Linked DNA regions of Homo sapiens: regions 2, 3, 4 and 5 are each linked to region 1. The links are contacts of gene promoters, found by promoter capture Hi-C in blood cells and fetal thymus (Javierre and others, 2016). All regions are on one chromosome and are shown on one strand. Each heading gives the region's core, a stretch centred on a gene start or on the middle of the fragment in contact. The rest is flanking DNA. Distances are from core to core; before and after follow the strand shown. Region 1 holds the start of CSTF3 (cleavage stimulation factor subunit 3). Region 2 overlaps FBXO3 (F-box protein 3). Region 3 overlaps EIF3M (eukaryotic translation initiation factor 3 subunit M). Region 4 has its middle 9.0 kb from the start of LINC02721. Region 5 overlaps CD59 (CD59 molecule (CD59 blood group)).

Evidence for each region. Contacts are between HindIII fragments. The CHiCAGO score rates a contact against its expected background, and 5 or more counts as called.
Region 2: a contact is called between a fragment that was not itself captured here and the fragment with the promoter of CSTF3 in region 1, in 2 of 17 cell types (naive CD8 T cells and M0 macrophages). The highest score is 5.5, in naive CD8 T cells.
Region 3: a contact is called between a fragment that was not itself captured here and the fragment with the promoter of CSTF3 in region 1, in 5 of 17 cell types (total CD8 T cells, non-activated CD4 T cells, total CD4 T cells and 2 more). The highest score is 8.2, in total CD8 T cells.
Region 4: a contact is called between a fragment that was not itself captured here and the fragment with the promoter of CSTF3 in region 1, in 1 of 17 cell types (naive B cells). The highest score is 6.8, in naive B cells.
Region 5: a fragment that was not itself captured here is called in contact with the fragment with the promoter of CSTF3 in region 1 in 4 of 17 cell types (M1 macrophages, M2 macrophages, endothelial precursors and 1 more); the score reaches 6.1 in M1 macrophages.

What each region holds. Positions count from the first base shown.
Region 1 is chr11:33,160,104-33,162,803 of GRCh38, reverse strand. CSTF3 (cleavage stimulation factor subunit 3) reads left to right here and starts at 1,324. Exons shown (of 21, transcript NM_001326.3): 1 at 1,324-1,505. The coding sequence starts at 1,479. It overlaps CSTF3-DT (CSTF3 divergent transcript), which reads right to left and starts at 1,147. Exons shown (of 4, transcript NR_034027.1): 1 at 1,023-1,147. RefSeq lists enhancers at 940-1,359, 2,095-2,700. The HindIII fragment of the contact is 5,866 bases long and covers 1,065-2,700 here.
Region 2 is chr11:33,750,562-33,753,261 of GRCh38, reverse strand. It overlaps FBXO3 (F-box protein 3), which reads left to right. Exons shown (of 11, transcript NM_012175.4): 7 at 1,655-1,739; 8 at 2,601-2,700. Among named protein-coding and RNA genes, the nearest start is that of CD59, 15 kb to the right of the region's middle. The HindIII fragment of the contact is 3,344 bases long and covers 1-2,700 here.
Region 3 is chr11:32,588,122-32,590,821 of GRCh38, reverse strand. EIF3M (eukaryotic translation initiation factor 3 subunit M) reads right to left here. Exons shown (of 11, transcript NM_006360.6): 3 at 2,090-2,228; 4 at 1,687-1,810; 5 at 1,181-1,275. Among named protein-coding and RNA genes, the nearest start is that of EIF3M, 5.6 kb to the right of the region's middle. The HindIII fragment of the contact is 1,687 bases long and covers 478-2,164 here.
Region 4 is chr11:33,830,071-33,832,770 of GRCh38, reverse strand. No RefSeq gene overlaps it. Among named protein-coding and RNA genes, the nearest start is that of LINC02721, 9.0 kb to the right of the region's middle. The HindIII fragment of the contact is 900 bases long and covers 982-1,881 here.
Region 5 is chr11:33,720,641-33,723,340 of GRCh38, reverse strand. CD59 (CD59 molecule (CD59 blood group)) reads left to right here. Exons shown (of 4, transcript NM_000611.6): 2 at 878-962. The coding sequence starts at 896. Among named protein-coding and RNA genes, the nearest start is that of CD59, 14 kb to the left of the region's middle. The HindIII fragment of the contact is 2,118 bases long and covers 229-2,346 here.

The DNA.
Region 1 (2,700 bases), core at 75-2,574:
TTTATTTTTTATTTTTTTTGAGACGGAGTCTCGCTCTGTAGTCCAGGCTGGAATCTCGGCTCACTGCAACCTCCGCCTCGCGGGTTCAAGCGATTCTCCTGCTTAAGCTTCCCGAGTAACTGGGACTACAGGCGCAAACCACCACGCCCGGCTACTTTTTTTGTATTTTTGGTAGAGACGAGATTTCACCAAGTTGGCCAGGTTGGTCCTGAATTCCTGACTTTATTTATTTATTTTCTGAGACGGAGTCTCGCTCTGCCGCCCAGGCTGGAGTGCAGTGGCGCGATCTCGGCTCACTGCAAGCTCCGCCTCCCAGGTTCACGCCAGTCTCCTGCCTCAGCATCCGGAGTAGCTGGGACTACAGGCGCCCGCCACCACGCCCGGCTAATTTTTTTTTGTGTGTGTGTGTATTTTTAGTAGAGACGGGGTTTTACCGTATTAGCCAGGATGGTCTCATCTCCTGACCTTGTGATCCGCCCGCCTCAGCCTCCCAAAGTGCTGCGATTACAGGCGTGAGCCACCGCACCTGGCCTAGAACTCCTGACTTTAAATGATCCATCCGTTTTGGCCTCCCAAACTGCTGGGATTACAGGCGTGGGCCACCGCGCCCAGTCAATCTCATTTAATCTTAATGCCAGGTACTGTTCTAACACTTTTCTATGTATAATTTATTTCACTTGCAGGTACTATTATTATTCCCATCTATAGGCCAGAAAGCTGAGGTACGAAGTTTAATTACCAGAGTTACTTATCTTCGTTAAAATCCAAGCAGTCTGGGCTACAAACAATTATACCTACTTTGCAGTCAAGGAACCAAGCTGAGATGTTGAGCTGAAAACCCAGGTCTCAGACTTCAAAGCTTTCTACACAAGAGTCGACGGTGGCAGTAAAAATTAATGGGGGCTTGATCTATCCCTCCCACCCCCAAGAAAAGTAAAAAGCAGGAGCTGGGACCAGAGAAAACCTCCACGGAGTCCTTATCCCCTAAATATAAGAGGCATTTAACGTTTAGCATTGCTGACCTGCAATCAGGCTTCAACTGTGAGTAGCCAGGCTCTAAAGCTTGATAACTGAATTCCAAAAAGCGCGCGAGCCTCCAGGCGAAACAGCTTCCCGCCTTCCAGCCGGTTGGAGCCGGCTCAGCAACAGCCTCTCCAAGCCAGGGTAGTGACGTCAGCCCAGGAATTGGGCCCGCCCCGGGATCTCGCTGCTTTCTGCACGCTCGGAATAACCAGAGTCGCGAAATTAGCCCCGCCCACTGCCCCGGAAGTTAATGCGGAAGCCACACACCTCCTCCTCGGCCGGCAGGGGCGCAGCCATTTTAATTCATATTTGAGTGGGCGGTGGCGATTGGTGTTGGCGGTCTGGCTCAGCTGGGCAGGGGGTAACTTTACTGATTTGGGGGTGGTTTTTAGTTTAATTTTTCTTTTCTAGCTTCCCATCGACGGTCAGTGCGCACGTTGTAATCAGCTGAGGCCATGTCAGGAGACGGAGCCACGGAGCAGGTGAGGAAGGAGAGTGGTGGGGCCTCGTGGCGACCTCTTCTCCACGTCTGTTCCTCCGACTGCTCCAGACATGTTCGGCTGAGGAAGGAATTGGGTCTAGTGAACCCGGGGGACAGGGTATATAGAAGAGTGGTGGGAATGGGGAGCAAGATCTAAGATTTAATTTTTTTTTTTTTACTTCTCTCTCTTAGGCATGAATACGAGTAAATACTTGATTTAGACAATAGCGGTAGGCTGCTTCGTCCTATTTAGATTCATGGGACTACTCCAGATGGGATGCTTTCCTTTGATATCGTTTTGGTATTAGAGTGGATAGGAATTATTTTAACGTGCACCCGACGTTTTAGAAAAACTTGACAGTGTTTCTTTTACCCCGCCAAATATACTGTACCCAGAAATAGGTTACTAGTTTGAGAAATATTTGAGACAAAGCTAATCTGGAGAATTAAGACTTAATGAGAGCGAGTGAAGAAAGAAGCAAGTTATGCTGAGGTTTTGGGAATTTTGTGGCTTTCTTTCGTTTTCTTTTCTTTTAGCCACATTTCGTTTTCATTTTTCCAGCTACATAAACATTGCAGGTATAAGTTGAAAATGAGAAGTCTGTTTTGGCCACTGTAAATAAAAGCATCTGTTTTAATAGTAAATATGAGTGACAACTAAATATTTTAAAATTCACACTTTTAGGTTAGATCAGTGTGATTTGTTTCTTTTGCTCTTTGTATTCAGAATTTTGTAGGATAGTATTTACCTTTTAGTGTGAAAGAGGAAGCTAAATAGTTATGAAAAATGCCATTAAATGTGTTTTTCGATCTAAGTCCTGGTGTGTTTAGATAAATACAGTTTCTAAAATGGAGGCTAGGTAGCCTGCAGTCTCAATTTCCTGAAATTTCCCATTGCCATAGCAACGACATGCACTTAGGTTTTCGTTTTTCAGGTTCCCTAGCTTATAACGTGGAAGATGTTATTGGAGGTTGGCAGAGATGAGGCAAAATAGGAGCGTTCTATTGCATAGTCTGTAAGACTGTAGATTTCATTATGTCGGCAGTTTGATTAAATTGTTTTGTGTTTGCCCGAGGACTGGTTTCAGTCCAGAAATCTTCGCACTATTTACATTTTACATAGTGTTAGCATGCCCAAGCATGCAAAGTCTTAAAATTACTGTATCAAAACTGTTTACCCCTTTTCTGATCTAGTA
Region 2 (2,700 bases), core at 82-2,581, 590 kb before region 1:
AGAGCAAAGCAAAAGATTGAGAGACACTGAGAAGAGATGAGGTGAGAAGTTAATGCAGGGAGGAAGGATGAAAAAGGAGCTTCCTTTCAGCTGCCTTGATAAAGCTCCAGAACCATCAGAGAGACCCCAACACATGGGCTTACTTTAAAAGGTAAATTACCTTAGAACATATAAATTGCATCTTGATTCAACTAAGTTTGCTTAGACTGGTAACACACAAAATGGCATATCCTGGTGTTCAGTGTACTAATAATAGATATTTAAGAAACCTGGAATCTGTCAGATAAGTTTAGTAGTGAATGCTGCCTAGTCTGTCCTCATCTTAAAGAATACACTCTGGTACGTATTGTAATAAAATAAGGTAGATTAAAATACACCATGCCAATTTTTTTTATGCAAACCACAAATTTGTTTTTAGTTATATAACTTTTTTCCACAAAATATACATATATATGATTTTTAAAAACTCTTTCAGAGAAAGTACTAGTGCTAAAAACGTAAAATTATACCTTCTATGAATTTTAATGACATTATTTATATAACTTCTTAATATCTTACTCAAAGTAGGTACATGATCAGTGAACCTTGAATACAATAGTGTTTAATAAATATTGGGTCAGAATGGGTCATTAATAGATATTGAGGAAAGAGCCAACTATTATAGTTTGCCTTCTCTCAGTTGATGCCTTTTAAAAGTTTAAAGCCTTGTACCCTTAGATATAAGCCAAATTGTATCTTTTATCATTCCCTAAATAGAATAATTAGTAAACACTATAAATTTAGCATCTGACATTCAGTGTGACAGAGTGTAGAAACTGGGTTAATTGAAACCAGATTACAAAGAAATTCATTGTTGAACAACATTAATTAAAGGACTAATACATTCCAGGCACTGAGATGTATTAACAGTAAATAATGGGGGGTCTGACAGAGTTATGTTAAATATTACCTAGAAGGGGTAAACATTATTAATTCATGTAAATACTTGTTATAATCCAATCATTAGATCACAGATATATGGTCTGGACTAGACTGTTCCAGTAATCCTTTTCTGCTTTGAGCTGGTCACTAAGAAGATGGAGGACCGCTGTGCAATTAAATCTATAGTAGTGTGCAACTAGACCACTTTGGGATTGGCCCGATGCACAGAACTCCACAATGTCATGTCCCTGGTAGATGTCCAGACTGAGCCTGGCTTCTGCCAAAATTTTGTGCTTGAGTCAGGATGTACCTGGACCAGGGACGTCTGAGAATAGGTGCTGATATTTTTCTTGTAGTTTCTTCCTAGTCATAGCTGTATTTTCTTTGTTCTATATGTTCAATAAATTACAGACAGAAGGCTTTTCATTCTTGTACCACAATGAATTAAAGTTTAAAATTTGATTAATTATAAGTGTAAAAAAATAGTCTGAAGGTCATTGGAGGATTCTCTAACAATAGTTGGGGGGATGAAGAGGGGGAGAATCCCAAGGAAATAAGGTGGATAGAATTGAGAATAGAAATTGATCTTATAAATAATTAGTACAATTATATCTATAAATGTTTCTAGTTTTGGTATCACATTCTAAAGCATAGAGGAATTACAATTGTTTCCTGTATAGATTTTACAAAACTATTTGTTCTTTTCTTTTTTTCTCCCTTTCCTGCTTTATAGGTGCTACTTTTACTGACTGGTTTACCTCTTATGTCAAAAATGTTGTATCAGGTGGCTTCCCCATCATCAGAGACCAAATTTTCAGGTATTTTATTTTGGGTCTTTTTGGATTGAAATGATTGTAAATCAGAGAAAAATGATAAGTCACAGATCATGAAATGAAGTTTCCCAAGAAGGTTGATAATAGAACCTCTCTATTGAGGTTGATAATAGAAGATTGTCTTCAGTCTCACTATTTTATTCTCACTTTAAAGCCAAACATCTAAATGCTTAGACAACTGGTATTTTTCCTATCCAGAAGAATCAAGAAAAAGCTGATTTTGATTTAGAAACTATGGGTTAATAGTATCTATATAATTTATTTTTGAAAAACACCAAAAAGTTATTTGGCAACTGATAGATTTATTATGAATAGCAAGTCGGTAACTGTTAATTCCTGGCAAATATTTATTATCTCTAAATGGAACATTCAGGTATTGTAGGGAGTACTGGAGGTAATACTGGTTCATAATAGCCTGGTTGGCAGAAATGATAGATTGATTATACATTAGAGGCTTCTGAGAACAGCATACTTGCACATTTTTATTGTCAGAGCCATCATTTAGCATTGGACATCATGCAGCTGGGTTTTCAGATGTCCCAAAAGTTTCCTTAGCCCTGGAAACTGAATAAGCTCATTTTTGTTTCCAAGCTAATTACCAATCCGTTATTTGAACCACTGATCATTGAACCTTGATTGCTGTCATTACTGATCCAGAGTCACCAAGGTTTTGTAGTTTGTTTCTAGTTTCCTTCAAAGTTTAATAGGACTATACCCAAATATTATTGAACTTTTCTGGGTCTGAAATATGATTTAAATTTTTTGTCCTAAAGTATAACCTATTTTGCATCGTATCTTTTAAATCCTGTAGTTGATTTTAAAATGTTTAATTTTTAAATTACCTAGATATGTTCACGATCCAGAATGTGTAGCAACAACTGGGGATATTACTGTGTCAGTTTCCACATCGTTTCTGCCAGAACTTAGCTCTGTACATCCACCCCAC
Region 3 (2,700 bases), core at 72-2,571, 570 kb after region 1:
ATATAAATAAAGTCATGAAGGGGGCACCCATAAACTTGAAGCATTTTTACTTAACTGCTAGGTAAAATCTCAGAATTTTACTGATTAAAATATGTATTTTATGTGTTCTAAAGAAGAAAACCAACTCTCAACATTTAGATTGGCAGAATGTCAGAAATGTCGTGTTTAAACAAGTATCCCCTTCCAGTTCCCTACTGTGGGTAGCATTTATCCACTCAGTGCCCAATAAGTGCTATCTTCTTGGGAATGCAATGGTTTACAGATGAGGTTCCTTGCCTTCACTTAGCCTACAACCTTACTTTCAACTAAGGGTGTTAAATGCTAGGATACAAGTAGAGGGTGCTGTAAAAGGGAGGCACTAACCGAAATATGAGAGGGGTGTTTCTGGCAGAGACATGAAGCTGACTATAGTAAGACTACTTAGACAAGGGGTAGGCAAACGTTCTATAAAGGGCCAGAGAGTAAATATTTTAAGCTTTGCAAGCTATATGGTATCTGTTGTAACTAAACTCTTGGCAAAAGCAGGCACAGACAATATGTAAATGAATAGGCATGGATGTAATACCAATGTTATGGACCCTGAAATCTGAATTTCATATAATGTCCACATATCATGAAATATTACCCTTTCTTTGATTTTCTTTCTCAATCATTTAAAAATGTTAAAACCATTCTTAGTACACGGGCTATAGAAGAACCAGTGCCAGCTCCTGGTCCAGACTGGCAAAGAGCATGGTGCTTTTATACCTGACATAGGCTCGCTGGGTCTAGAGTGTGATAAGCAAGAGGAAGGACATGGGTGGAGAGATGGAATATTTACATTAACACAAAGTTTTTTGTAGTCTGCCACTGCACCATCCAAAAATGATGAGATGCTTCACCACATTCACCAAGCTCATGCTACAGCAGTAGGTTGAAGCCCATGTTGGAAAGGCCCCACCTTTCTTTTTTTAGAAAAAAAGCCAAATTTCACTTTTTAAAAAGTTCAAAGATGAGGGAAAACTACTTTTAATCTTTATAGTTATCTTTAACTTTAGGTCAAATTTATAGAAATAGATTTATAGCAACTCTGTGGAGAACAGAGTAAAGCAAAATTACTGGCCCTACTTCTCTTTAAAAAACATCCCCACCTACTTATACTGTCTGTTAAGTGATATGTTAGTTCATTACTTTTGAATACCTCTTCTTACAATCCACAAGTGCCTCATAAAGTAGTCTTAAAAGGGTGTGCTTTTTTTCAGTGGTGAGATTCCAGTCAGAAATCCATTTTCTAACCTACAAGAGATTGACAAAAGGAGAAAACTGAGTAACACATATAAAGTATAACATATAAAAGTACATTTCTGGCTGGGCGTGGTGGCTCACGCCTATAATCCCCAGCACTTTGGGAGGCCAAGGCAGGAGGATCAACTGAAGTCGGGAGTTCGAGACCAGCCTGACCAACATAGAGAAACCCCGTCTCTACTAAAAATACAACATTAGCCGGGCGTGGTGGCGCATGCCTGTAATCCCAGCTGCTCAGGAGGCAGAGGAAGGAGAACTGCTTGAACCCTGGAGGCGGAGGTTGCGGTGAGCTGAGATTGCGCCATTGCACTCCAGCCTGGGCAACAACAGTGAAACTCCGTCTCAAAAAAAAAAAAAGTACATTTCTTATAAGCAGAACAACTATTCCACACAGTAACTCACTTGATCCAGCTCAGTTGGGATGTACTGGATGGCCCCACAAGATGCTGCCACTTTAATAAGGCTGCAATACACTGTGTATCTTACAGGAGTATTCTTATCCATCCCGTGGAAAAGGTTGCTTAACCTGGTTGGTTAACAAACAAATAAACAATGTTTGAAATCAGCAACCAGTTTTAAGTTGAGGTTAGCTCTCACCACAAACCTGTGGCAGGTACCGTTAACAACTTCATATTACAAAGGAGGAAACTAGGGCACAGAAAGGTCAAGCCACTTGCCCAAGGTCACAGCTAATATGAGCCACAGCTGAGAGTCAAGTTCCAGAATTCCTGCTCTGCACCATTAAAAGTTAGTAACATGAAAAAAGCACCTAGAAAAACTGAGTTTCTTTCAGATCTTAACTTACAACTGCAGTCTCAGAGACGGGCGTTCACCTTCGCGAAATTTGACCAGCTTTTCACATAGGCTTTCAATCAAAGCTTCTTGCTTGTCTGGTTCCAGGATCAAGAGTAGGGATACCACACTGTTCATCACACTTTCAACATCTACACAAGTATGGATAACACAATCAACAGTGATACTACAATACTCAATGCGTCTAGTTAAATATGCATTTCCAGTGTTTTAATACAATGAAGACCATCAAATGTAAGACACTTTCGCATTCAGAAAGCAACTTGTATATTTTATTAAAGAGGAAGGAAATTGATACCTAAGATGTGGTTTCTTTTTTTTTTTTTTTTTTTTTTTCAGATGAAGTCTTGCTCTCTTGCCCAGGCTGGGGTGCAGTGGTGCGATCTCGGCTCACTGCAACCTCCGCCTCCCAGGTTCAAGCGATTCTCCCGTCTCAGCCTCCCAAGTAGCTGGGACTACAGGCACCCGCCACCACGCCCGGCTAATTTTTGTATTTTTAGTAGAGACGGGGTTTCACCATATTGGCCAGGCTGGTCTTGAACTCTTGACCATGTGATCCACCTGCCTCGGCCTCCCAAAGTGCTGGGATTACAGGCGTGAGCC
Region 4 (2,700 bases), core at 182-2,681, 670 kb before region 1:
TTTTTCTTTAAACTTTCACTCCGCTCATGAGGCACCCACTTATCGAGCTTTTTCATCTTTCCAATTTGCTTTCAGTGCCGAACAACAGTAGGATGGTCGACGCTGAGTTTTTCGGCAACTTCTCATGTAGTTGTAAGAGGATGAGCTTCAGTGATGGCTCTCAATTAGTCATTGTCAGCTTCCGACGGCTGGCCACTACATTCCTCACCTTCAAGGCTCTTGTCTCCTTTGCAAAACTTCTTGCACCACCACCGCACTGTATGTTTGTTAGCAGTTCCTGGGCCAAACGCACTGCTGATGTTGCGAGCTGTCTCCGCTGCCTTACAACCCATTTTGAACTCAAATAAGAAAATCACTCGAATTTGCTTTTTGTCTAACATCATTTCCATAGTCTAAAATAAACATAAAATAAACTAGCAAAAAAACATAAAGCGAGAAATGCCCATTAAAATGATGTATACGGTAACCACATTTATTTACATTCTTAAATGTAAATAAGAATTATGTTCTTAATTTTATCTTTTCTTGCCTTATGTTTTATTCCAATATCAAACGGAAAATTCTAACAATGCAAAAACCGCAATTACTTTTGTACCAACCTAATATCTATATATATATATATACACACATGAATAATTTGTTATATAATTTGATTTTTTTTTTTTTGAGACAGAGTCTTGCCCTGTCACCCAGGCGGGAGTGCAGTGGTGCGATCTCTGCTCACTGCACCCTCTGCCTCCCAAGTTCAAGAGATTCTCCTGTCTCAGCCTCCTGAGTAGTTGGGATTACAGGTATGCACCACTATGCCTGGCTAATTTTTGTATTTTTAGTAAAGATGGGGTTTTTCCACGTTCGCCAGGCTGGTTTCAAACTCCTGACCTCAGGTGATCCACCTGCCTCGGCCTCCCAAAGGGCTGGGATTATAGGCGTGAGCCACAGCACCCAGCCTAATTTGATTTTTTAAAAACCCAAATATAAGCTTCATATTTATTTCTGCAAAATTCCGTCTACTGGATTACACAGTGTCAATTACAGCCTAACTTTCAGTTGAAAAGCTAGAATCTTCAGAGATTCCCCCAGGGGCCATGGAGGATGGGCTGTTGAGGGTCCCTGATTTCCTCTGCTCTTCCAGAGAAGAGCCACCTGCTAGTCTTCTCCCTCTGAGAGAGAGATTAGGCTTCCATGGCAGTGGAGAAGGTAGAGGGGGCACGAGAGATAACTTCCTGAACACCTCTGCCTCTAACTTCCTACATTGTCCTCTCTGATCCTCATACAGCCAGGAGTGGTGAGTCAAGCAGGTGCTATTGTGCCTGATTCACAAGTGAAGTTACTGAGTTATAACGAGGTGAAGGGTCAAGTTCTAGGCACTTCTCCAACTGTAATGTACATGAGGATCACCTGGGGATCTTGTTAAAATGCACATTCTGATTCAGTGGGTTGGGTGTGGGGCCTAAGATTCTGTATTACTAAGAAGCTCTTGGGTGATGCTGGAGACCACGAGCCTCTCGGTGAAACAGCAGGTGAGATGCTTTAGGGCCAGTTCTCTGGATAGAGGTGGGAGTCGCAATCACATTGCCCCTAGCTCCTCCTGCCACTAAATTTGGCCACTTCTATTTGGAAGTTGGGAGAGGATTATCCTATTGCAGTACTGTGTCTAGAGGGGAAGGTGACTCATGTCCCCTGCTCCTTCCCCAGGCAGAACTCAGAGTTCTTTGTGTCTTGTCTGCTCCTTGCCTGAGCTTTTTGGCTATTTCTTTTTCTAAACTTGAATAAAATACAACAGCAAGAAAATAGCAATGACTCCTGTTGGAGTCCAGTATAGCTGAGATCACCTGATTTTAAGTCGGGCTCAGGTGAGGCAACTTGTTATAATGGAAAGCTTTTAGCTTCCAGAGTTAGACACCTGGGTCCAAATCCTGGTTCTGCCCCTTACAAAATATAAATAGAAGGAAAATGTACTTAAATTTCTTGGCTGGGTGCGGTGGCTCATGCCTGTAAGCCCAGCACATTGGGAGGCTGAGGCTGGTGGATCATTTGAGGCCAGGAGTTCATGACCAGCCTGTCCAACATGGCAAAACACTGTCTCTACTAAAAATACAAAAATTAGCCAGGCGTGGTGGTGCATGCCTGTAGTCCCAGCCACTCGGGAGACTGAGGTATGAGAACACTTGAGCCTGGTGGGTGGAAGTTGCAGTGACCTGAGATCGCACCACTGCACTCCAGCCTGGGTGACAGAGCGAGAATTTGTCTCTAAATAAATAAATAAATGAATAATAAATTGGCCTCAGCTAAAGTGGCAGACTTCCATCCTGACCCTTACTCTGCCCAATAACCCCACTGGAGGGCAGCCCATTTCAGGTTACCCTGCAACATCACCAGAATTCTCAGAATGCTCAGTCTGCAATTCCAAGTTATTCCAAAGCTAAGTCAGTCTGATGTTCTGGGAAGAGAAGCTGAAAGCCCAGCACTTAGGGGAAGTTTGGCCTCCAGGGCATCCCTACAGGTTGTACTCACTGATGGGTGGCATGGTGTGGGGGATGATGGGAACTCAGTTGGGTCTGAGGACAGAACCTCCCTATCCCTTGATGTTAAGTTAGCCAGAGCACACCACCACCAGCCCACATATGATGCTAAACCTCCTTTCCCAGGCAGCCCACACCAACTTCTTCCAGGAGTCGATGTTTCCTATGGAAAATGGAT
Region 5 (2,700 bases), core at 38-2,537, 560 kb before region 1:
CTCTGCATTTCTGACTTAGGGAGGGTAGATGACTCACCCTTCCAAGAACCCATCTGTCTGTCCGGGCCTGTGGGGCTCTGGAGAATAGAATATGGAGTACCCTGGTTTACAGGCACTGCCACCTCCTTATTTCAGGATGGGTTCAGGGATGTAGGATTGGAGTTGGGAGATTTCTTAGTTCTGCTATGGATGCTTTGTACTTAGGCAAGTTCAAAACCTCCCTAAGCTTTGGCTTCTTTACTGGGTAAAGTAGGGTTGGAGGCATTTCAGGCTTTCCTTCTTCTCACCTGATGCTATCACTACACATCTAGGCATTCACGTAATGGAAACTTACAAAGTTGCTCAATACCTCTCTTCATGTCCCCAAAGAGAGCAAGCAAGTGTCCCCATTATACTTCTTACAGTGAGGAGCCAGAGCTTCCAGGTATGCTAAGCCATTGCTCCCTGTTCCACTGCTGAATGCATGCTGGTGCCTTCCAGAGTCACCCCTTTGGTCTGATTCACTTAGTGCTGTGGCTCCGAGAAGTGGCCCTCTCTTTCAGCCAGCAGCTTGGGGTGGGGCCAGTAGAGTGGGAACCACAGTGGCTATATGAGTCAATTTGCTCATATTGTCATTTGACTCACTGACCCTGATGGGGAAGATAGTGTTATTCCCACAGTGTGGTAGTACACACTGGGGCTTATAGGGACTGAGCCTACTCAAGGGTATATGGTGCTGTGGGTCAGAGCTGGGGCATGGCCCAGGGATTCAGTGTGCCTTGACTCCCCCTGTAAATGTTCCTCTCAGAAGCCTTCTTGGCCTTCCAGCCCTTGGTTTTTGAGACAACCAGCAGTCATTTGTTCGTTCCTGACATTCCTTCCTGTCCCTTCCTTCCAGGTTCTGTGGACAATCACAATGGGAATCCAAGGAGGGTCTGTCCTGTTCGGGCTGCTGCTCGTCCTGGCTGTCTTCTGCCATTCAGGTGAGTGCTCCAGTCTCAGGACATGGATCTAGGCTGCCTTGGCCATGAACTCCCTTCTTAAGCCTCAGTTTCAGCCCCAGCTGCTCCTCCAGGCCTGGCTTTGGTTCTTTTGCCTTCCAGTGTTACAGGTCTGGGGTTGTATGACAGCTCCTTCCTATGTTATGACCTTGTCCTCAGTGGGGCATCGTCCTGAGTTACAGCCCGTCCTGAGTTACAGCGTGGCTTTTGGCAGGGGTGGGTCAACAATCGGCGGCTGAAGTTTCACTCCTGTCACCATAAGCTGCTTGGGGACACCAATGGATACCATTCTTAGAGTGCTGTGCAAGTCCCTTTGGGGTCCACTCTGCTTAGAGCCATCTGAGCTCAGTCCTTCTGCTCTGAGGCTCCTCCTGTGTTTTAATGATGATGATGGTCATAGTGACAGCAGCAGCAGCTAACTAACCCTGAAGCATTTATGTGCCAGTCACTACTCTAAGCATTTTACGTGTATTTGCTTATTTAATCCTCATGCCAACCTGATGGAGTTGGTGGTATTTTTATCCTTGTTTTACAAGCAACAAGATTGAGGCCTCCCCAAAATTAATAACTTGTCAAATAACACACAGAAGTGGTACACGGGAATGTGAACACACAGTCTGGCAACAGAGTCCCTGCTCTTCCCTCCTGCTCCAGGCCATCTGTCACTGGGCCACCCCCTCTCCTCAGCCACCCCTCCCCTGGTTGCTGGAGGAAATTGTGTGCTTCTGAGTCAACTTCTATAACAGTGGAAACACACATGCTTCATTGTAAAGATCAAGTGTGGTTGTCTGCCTGTGTCATGTTGGTATAATATCTTGGCCACTGCTGGTTTTTTGTTTTTTATAAATATGGTTGGTGGGGGGAGCAGAAAAGAAAGTGGCAATACAGTGAGCAATTTAAAAAAAGATTTCCACACCACTGTAGCATGTCTTAGAATATTAACAGCAACCATATATTCACTGTTTATTGTTTACTGGGGACTGTGCCAGAGCCTGTCTCATTTAAATCCGTCCAGCCATTCCGGGAGGTCGGTACTGTTACCTCCCATATTACAGCTGAGGAAATGAAGGCAAAGTAGTAACTTGGCGCCAGGACACACTTTAATATGTTCTCCCTTTCTGAGCAGAAAGAGAAGTCATGGCACCCCTTCTTCCCCACCTTCCGTGATTCTAGCCAGGGTGCACTGTAATGTGGTTCACCTGTGTTAAAACACTATATTTTTTCTATAATTATTTTTTATTTATTCATTTTTCTTGGTTCCTTCTTTTTTTCTGTCTCTGCTGCTTAAGTTGGAATATTTTCTAGAATTTTAATAGCCCAGTGACATCCTACTTCCAGCAGTCTGCATTTGTTTATGGAGCAAGCTTGGGACCATCAGCTTCTCTGTGACAAGTCTTGGGGTGCACTTCAGCCCTTTCTCAGAGAATTGAGATGTGAAGCTCACATGCCCACAGATGAGAGGCCTTCTTTGCTGCTGCCCAAAAGGGTCTCAGGACCCTGCAGGGGAACTTTCCTCTGAGCTCTGCCTCTTATGGCCCAGGGGAAACCTCGTCTACCCTGGCTTAGTGGCTAAAATATCAAACCATTGTCCACTGACCTATTGCTTGTTTTTTTTTGTTTGTTTTTTTCAGGGGGATGGAGTCTCACTCTGTCGCCCAGGCTGGAGCGCAGTGGCGCGATCTCGGCTCACTGCAACCTCCGTGTCCCAGGTTCCAGCGAT